Linked DNA regions of Homo sapiens: region 1 is linked to region 2. Evidence: promoter capture Hi-C in 16 types of primary human blood cells and fetal thymus (Javierre and others, 2016). All regions are on one chromosome and are shown on one strand. The core of a region is centred on a gene start or on the middle of the fragment in contact, and the rest is flanking DNA. Distances in the headings are between cores, read along the strand shown. Region 1 overlaps FEM1C (fem-1 homolog C). Region 2 holds the start of CDO1 (cysteine dioxygenase type 1).

Region 1 (4,006 bases), core at 1,361-3,860, 280 kb before region 2:
GACATCAATCATTATCTTAGTCTATCTGAATACCAACAGTTTTTAGTTTACAAGAGAGATTTTCTCATTTGAGATTCTTGTGCATTTACAGTGGGGAATTAAATAAGATTTTTCTTTAGCATTTCCTTGACTAAAATACATCTATATTCTAAATGCCCATTCTATGAGAGAGAAATAATATAAAGCCTTGGATTTGCTTTAAACTACTATAGAAAACAAAAGGAAAGTAGAAACTTTTTTTTAAACTTTAGCAAATGGGTAATTGTTGAAGTAAGATGATGAATACATAGTGGTTCAATGTATTCTCTCTGTGTAAGTTAGAAAATTTCCATAATGAAAAGGCAAATAATCTGTCTGAACTAGTTCTCTCAAACCCTTTTAATGCTAGCAATCCTTGCCACATGCCTACATGAATTTCTCCCTTTTCTGAACCCCTATATTCTACCTGTGCTACTCATTTTTGTCCAACTACTGTCTTACTTTGTTACTTCAAGTCTTCATGCATGTATTTATTTCCCTACAGAAAGGCCTATAAAACATAGTGCTTGCCATCAAGGAGCTTATAATCTTTCCTCTCTTAAATCCAACATGTCCACTCAACAAGCTCATTTAGGGCCAGATACTCTTCCTAATGCATGGGGTAAAAACACTAGGTCTTTAGCCTCAAAGACTATGTAGTAGAATGCGGTTAGATGTCACAGTGTTGTAGTAGAATGCAGTTAGATAAGTTTCTCTGAAAACAAACAAGCAAACAAACAAACCACTCCAGTTAGTCCCCTGCTGAAAAACTTTTACTGGCATGAAAAATAAAATCCAACTCCTGTACCTAGATTAAATGTCCTTTAAAATTCAGCCCTGAGTGCCTTTTAGTTCTAATATGCCTACTTTCCAATTCCTGGACCCTCCAAGCATATTCTTCAAAGTGCCTTTCCTTATGCCATTTCCTAAACCTTCAAAACTGCCAAAACCCTTCCACAGATCCACATCCCAATAAACTTTCTGCAGATCTAAACCCCAACCTGTCCATAGATCTAAACCCCAAAATTCAAAGCCCTGTTTAACTTCTACTTTCTCCATGAAGCATTCCTAGTCAGTACACCCGCTCTAAAATCCTATAGCATGGATTGCTTATACTATTCCTTCAGAAGTTAAAAATGTGACACCTCGTATCTTCTCATAACCTCCAAAATGTCCCACAGAATGCCTTGCCTACAGAAAGTGCATGTTAATTACCTTATTACCAATTTATTTAATTACTTTGGGTATCTAAACTGACTGATGAATGAGGACAGAATGTCTTCTAGAGCCAGTCTCCAAATCTGAGCCTACAGCGTTTTCTATTGGTCTGTAGTACTGAATCAAGAACTTTTAGCTGCTCAATTTCTGTTAGAATTAGGGTGTAAAAGTGGAATTGAAGAGGACTTAACTTTGGATCTGCAAAGTTCTAAGTCCAAACAAAAACAACCCCAAAACACAAACAAAAGAACCAAAGGAGGCCAAAGATGACTATAACCATGAAGCGCTGAGATCACTGTGATAGCTCTGAGAAGGACTCACCTAATCACTACAGATTTACAGTCTAGATTCTTAAATAGGAACCAACTCCCGTCTCAAAACTCAATTGCTATGACTGTTAAACTGAAGAGGTATTCCTAAATATATCAAAGATTTTCTCCCCTTTTGGAATGCCATGGGAAAAGAAGAAAACCATTGTCCCCTCAGGTTATAAGTTGTTGGGGATAAAGCATTTCCAAATATCTAATAGAAGAAAGTACTACTGTTGCACTTACCATACTGTGGTTTAAGTATCTGCTTATGAACCTGTCTCTCCAATCAAACCATGAGCTCCTCAAGAGCAGGGAATCAAGGACTGGCTATCTTGTCTTATTGCTCTTTGTATATCCTAAGTCTAACAGCCTGGCACACTGCGGGACTCAACAACTGCTCTCTCAATTAGTGAATTCCACCTTAGGTTAAAACATGTTCAAAATGCCAATAGCCTGTTAAAAAGTAATGAAAAGAGGTTAAATAACATGTTCAAATATCAACCGCCTGTTTAAAAGTAATGGAATGTAGAAGTCACATGCATTTTATCTTTAAGCAGACCAAGCACAATGTACTGACATTTTCTTTCCTCAGAACCATTTCCAGTGAATGACACACAAAATGTCCTAAGGAATTATTCTAATTTAACTCTAGTCTTATTAATCTTTTCTACTTTTTGAATGGGGCTAAAAAAGTGGGGAAAAATCCTCTCTTGCTGCTAAATCACATCCTTCTCCAGTGTCCCTGCCTTAGTTTCAATTGGTTCCTGCTTTTGTTACCATTAACCCATAGAAAAAAATCCAGAACCAATGAGAGAATGAGCAGTGAAGCTTCAGGATCAGAGTGGAGGAGGATGAACATGTACTTTAATCTGCCCCCAACATTCATGAAGAATCACTATGGAAATTAACAGATACCATGAAAAGGTAAAAATTCTGCACATGAAGTGACAATATCTATATGCATGTGTATGGGTATAAAGTTGAGGTTACGAGAAAACAATTTTTGGCATGAAATTGTTTTCTCATGTTATATGTAGTTTTTTTAAAGACATACATATTAGATACTGATACTGGGGAAAAAAATGACTTAGAATAAGTTTGGCCAAAAGAGAGAACAGACATACCCTCACATATAAGGCTAAAAGATGATAGTGGTGATAAAGGGAACATTGTTTTGAAAGAGCTCAAAGGTAATCAAGTTAAATACTGTTCACAGCTTCTCAGGAGAAAATGCTGAAAAAATCTGAGCTATTTATATTAGAGTTCTCTCATATACTATATCTCCACAAGTACATAAAGAAGCTTTGGAAAATATAACGGAAGTAATACCAGTTCTCATCTCTCCAATAACATAGGCTTTTAAAACATATCCCAATTTGACTTAAATATGAGTTTATCAATAATATCTACATCAAGCTGATGAATAAAAAGCCCAAAACAAAGAAACAAAAAATTCAACAAACCTAAACAAGCAGCCATGATTTCAAACCATTCCCAATATTAACATGGTTAGTTCAGCAGTAATTTGTTGTCTTAAAACAAGCATTCTTCAAAAGAATGATAATTGTTTGGAGAAAAAAGAAAAGCCATGCTGTCATTTGATCTACCAAGCCACCTCTAAAGATAATCAGGAACAAATGAAAACACTTATTAGAAAGAATGTTTACAGAAACATTTTTTATCATACTGAAAAACTGGAAGCAACATAAAACTCCATCAGTAGAAGAGTATGCAGCTATTGAAATTAAAGAGCTATAATTGGTAATATTAAAGATAACATTTATTAAGCTAAAAAACAGGTTATAGAACAGCATATAAAACTGCATACATATATCAGTATGCAAAATTCAGAAATATCTTTGGAAGTATTATCCCTGAGTACTGGGATTTTGTGGGATTTTTACACTTCCTCTGGAAAAAAAAATTCAGAAAAATCACAATGATCTTGTATCATTTTTATAAAAGATCACACTTGTATCATTTTTATAAAAGATCACACAATCTACAGCAAATATGCTCAGTAACTATATAGTGCCCCATAATTGTGTGGTTTAACCTTTCTGAAAGGCAGACACTATCACAACTGCAAATGTACATTCACTTTGATTTAGCAATTCTGAACACAGGTATTTATACTACAGTTATTCTCACACAAGCGTGAAAAGACACATTTTTGTTCAAGAATGTTCACAGCAGCATTGTTTATATTAGCAAAGTACTGGATGTGACCTAAATATCAACCAATAGAGACTAGATAAATTATGTACATTCATACAATGAAATACTGTATAGCCACAAAACAGAATGAGGTAGCTATGTGTGTTGGAGTTGAATGACATCCAAGGTTAGAAAAATAAATAAAGATAAAAAAGTATGTAATCAACCACTAGACGGAGGGCTACACAAACAAGCATGCTTGTACATAGACAAGTATGCTTGTATTTGCATAGACCAACTCT
Region 2 (3,692 bases), core at 245-2,744:
AAACTTACTTCTTTCCTTATTCTTTTCTTTCACTTACCCCTTTCTCCTAACCCTAAACCCAAAAAACCACAAAGACTGACGCACTAACTGCTCAGAAAAAGTAGAACCTCTCACACTTCGGGGTGATTAAATTTTACCTCTGGCCCCGGAGGATTGGTAGAGAGATTCGACTTAATCACCAAGCCGGGGCTGCAAAAAAGCCAGCTTACCAGGGCACCTCACTCAAGTACATCTGGGAAGTAGGGGTCTTTAATTTACATTACAGATCGTCAGAAGCAAGGATAAGATAAATCAGATCATTTGGGGGCTGAAAAAAACGACGGTCGAATATTTAATCTGCGAAACTTGGCAGTGGATTTGAATAAACCCACAGTCGGGGAAGTTAGTTAAATTGGTTTGGGAAAGGGAACAGCAGAAATTCCGTAGTGGCAGCTGACGGCCACAAGACGCTATTTTACATGAGTAAAAATGCTTGCTATAAGGTGCCCGGTTGCAGGCGACCGAAGGCGCAGTGATGGAGAACTGACGCGGGTGACTTGTCTTCTTCAACATCACACACTTCTCCCGATGGCTGATGTAGTGCTCCCCTGGGAGCACCCTCTGCTAGTCCGGCCAGACGGTTCCTTAAGGTGTCAGGAGGGCCCGAACCTGAGTGCGGTCTCTCCGCATCTCCGCGCCCGGGGTTAACGATGGCTTGGGAGTGTGGGCATTGCTCCCGAGGCCAGGGGCAGGAGGACTGGTGGTTTAGAAGCAGAGGGGTTTGCGGGAGAGAAGAGAACAGAAAATCTCGCAGACGCGCGGTGGCCTCCCTTCCCGGCGCCTGTCCGCCGTTCCCGGCCGGAGGTCAGCAAGGCCAGTAGGATCCACCTTCCGCCTGCGCTGTGGCCGCGGAGCCCCAAGCGAGTCGTGCCAGCCCCGCGGCTGGCCAGCGAGGGGGCGAGCGGCGGACGCAGCGCGGCCCGAGCTTCCCGAGCCAGTCACTTTGGGCTGCGTCCCCCACGTCCATTCCTCCTCAGACGGGGCGAGTGGGCGCCGCCTGGCATTGAAGCTGCAGCGCGCTCACCTGTACTGGTCGAACTTGGCGTACATTGCCCACTCGGTGGGGTCGCTCTCGTAGGCTTCCATGATGGCCTGCACCTCCTCTACATTGACCTCATCGCCGGCAAAGAGCTGGTGCAGGATGCGGATCAGATCAGCCAGGGTCCGTGGCTTCAGCACTTCGGTCTGTTCCATCTCGTGGGGAGCTGGCTGCGCGCGCGTCTCACTGCTGGGCTGCGGTGGAGGAGCTGAGCGAGCCAAGGAGCTGGGGGCGAGGGAGCCTAACAGCCCGCTAGACCGCTAAGCAGACACACACGCACAAACCCAGCATTAGAGTGCCGAAACGTAAGGATGTCGTCGCAGAGACAGCAAGAGACCCACCCCCAGGCCCCTGGCAGCGCAGTGGATCCGGGATCGCTGGAGACGCGGTGCACACACAAATCAGGTTCAGATCTGTGGGGTTCATCCTCCCGGGCCCCTTTTAAGCGCTTGGAGTCACTAGGAATGTACCAACGGCCCTCGGAGGGAGGACGAGGCGGAGAGCCACCCAAGAAAGGTGGCGGAGGCGGGGAGACCCTGCGGGCACGGCTCACGCGCACATCCCCGGCTTCCCCGGGCTCCGCGCCTTCCCAAGAGCCCCGTTGTCTCCGGCGTCCCAGGGATCGCGTGGGCTCCGCGCAATCTCTCCCCCACTTTAACGGCGCGTTTTAGCCGCCCGGCCTAACGCCTCTCCCCGCTCCACCTCCGCCGCTGTGGTTCGCGACGCTGGGACGTAGACAAAAAGGGTCGGAGGAGATGGCTGCGGGGACTGACGCTGAGTAAAGGAGGAAAAGAAAAGGGAAGGAGAGGGACACTTCTTCCAAATAGAGAATTGTGAGGAGCCTGCGAAAATTGAGGATGGATTCCACTCCTAGGCCAGAGAGTGCCTGTTTTGTCGATTGAAACTATCCACGATATGCCCCAGGCTAGGTGAAAATAAGTCCAAGACTTTATATATATATATATTTAAGTATACACACACACATATTTTTTAAAATGCGTACTGAAATATATTTTGACAAAGGAGACTCGGGTCTCTAGTAAGACAATTAGTGAAATGATGGAAAACCAAGAACTCTTTGATTTTAAAATCAAATATTTTCTTTTAAAAAATATCCAGTGCAAATAACCTGATATTTCATTTGATGGTGTAAAAGGGGGCTTTTTCTGAGGGGATAGGGCGGGCTCTGACGCAATAATTTAAGAGGCTATAATTATATTTGAATCTTTCAACCTTAGGCATGTGCTTGAAGGAGCCTGCTAGTACATACATATAAGGAAACACGTTTCTACGTCATGCATAGCACCTAGTACGTTGGGAACAACACAAATCAAGTACAGTAGGATTTAAATGAGAAAGATGTGAAAGGTGGAAGAAATGCAAGTGTAGATTTCTTCCTTCTCATTATGGATGGACGCAGGGAATAATTTGGATTTAAGGTTATTAAAGTTCTAGACTTCTGAAGACCTGTTTTTTTCTAGACTATGATCACCCTCCCTCGTGTATATACATGTATACAATGAAATTTACTTGTGCCAGGTAGTCTTAAACATCTCTGGTAAAACTCGCTACATTATATTCTAACAGTGTTGTTAAAAGCGGAATCACCTATTGTTCAAAAATGGCTACAAGTAGAAAGCATTCCAGAAGCCAGCCTTGGTGATGTGTGTTGCTGCGGGGTAGTGAATTAACAAAGTATTTTGTGACAGAGTAACCTGTAAACTTTTCATGGTTTCCTCAAATTATTTTTTATTCTTGGCAATGTTTTCTATTGAGTCTCTTAATTACTTCATTTCAGCTAGTCTAATCCATAAATGTTTGGAATGAACAACAAAAATGAAATGCAAGCACAATTTATCTTTTCTGCATTTCAGTTGATAAAACTTCTAAATTTTTCTGACAATTCATTTTCTTTCTCTGACTCCTCTTTTTCTTTTTACATTTTTATGAAAGTAATATATTCACGTAGTTAAAAAAAATCAATAGTACTGGAAGGTCAATGAAAAGCAGCAGGCCCTTTTAACCATTCCTGACCATCTGTCCTGTGCTTAAAGAGTCAGTCTCTTAACTCTTCTAACTATTCCTTGTGGTAGTTACTTCCTTTTTCCAAAAATAGGCTTATATTTTTTTTTGTTTCAGCAATTTTAGATATTATCTAGTCATTTTACATTATGATAGCTCCATTCGTTTATTATTCATTCATTAATTTATTCAACAAATGTTTTTTCGGGTGAATAGAAATTTTCATTTCACCTGAGTAAATACCTAGGAGTGAGATTGCTGGGCCATTTAGTCAGTGCATGTTTAAATTTGCAAGAAATTGACATACTAATTTGCAAAGGGTCTGTGCCATTTCACATTCTCAACAGTGATGTATGAGTTCTAGTTGCCCCGCATCCTCGCCAGGTATTGTCAGTTTTACCAATTTTGGCCAAATAGAGGTGTGCTGATATTGCATTGTGTTCTTCATTTTCTATATCTCTAATTCTTATGGGCAGGTCTTTGTTCTTAGAGCTCCCAAGATGGTGGCCACCGCTCCCAGGATGGCAGCAAGCCTTTTGTTCTCTGAACTGGGGTTCTTGGCCTCATGGATTCCAAGGAATGGAACCTTGGA

What was found. The method cuts DNA at HindIII sites, captures the fragments that hold promoters and counts their contacts. A CHiCAGO score of 5 or more calls a contact.
Region 1: a contact is called between a fragment that was not itself captured here and the fragment with the promoter of CDO1 in region 2, in 1 of 17 cell types (total CD8 T cells). The highest score is 5.7, in total CD8 T cells.

What each region holds. Positions count from the first base shown.
Region 1 is chr5:115,537,875-115,541,880 of GRCh38, forward strand. The region is part of intron 2 of FEM1C (fem-1 homolog C); the gene reads right to left. Among named protein-coding and RNA genes, the nearest start is that of FEM1C, 4.9 kb to the right of the region's middle. The HindIII fragment of the contact is 474 bases long and covers 2,374-2,847 here.
Region 2 is chr5:115,815,165-115,818,856 of GRCh38, forward strand. CDO1 (cysteine dioxygenase type 1) reads right to left here and starts at 1,495. Exons shown (of 5, transcript NM_001801.3): 1 at 1,064-1,495. The coding sequence starts at 1,233. It overlaps LOC124901049 (a long non-coding RNA gene), which reads left to right and starts at 1,924. Exons shown (of 2, transcript XR_007058908.1): 1 at 1,924-2,007. The HindIII fragment of the contact is 6,274 bases long and covers 1-3,692 here.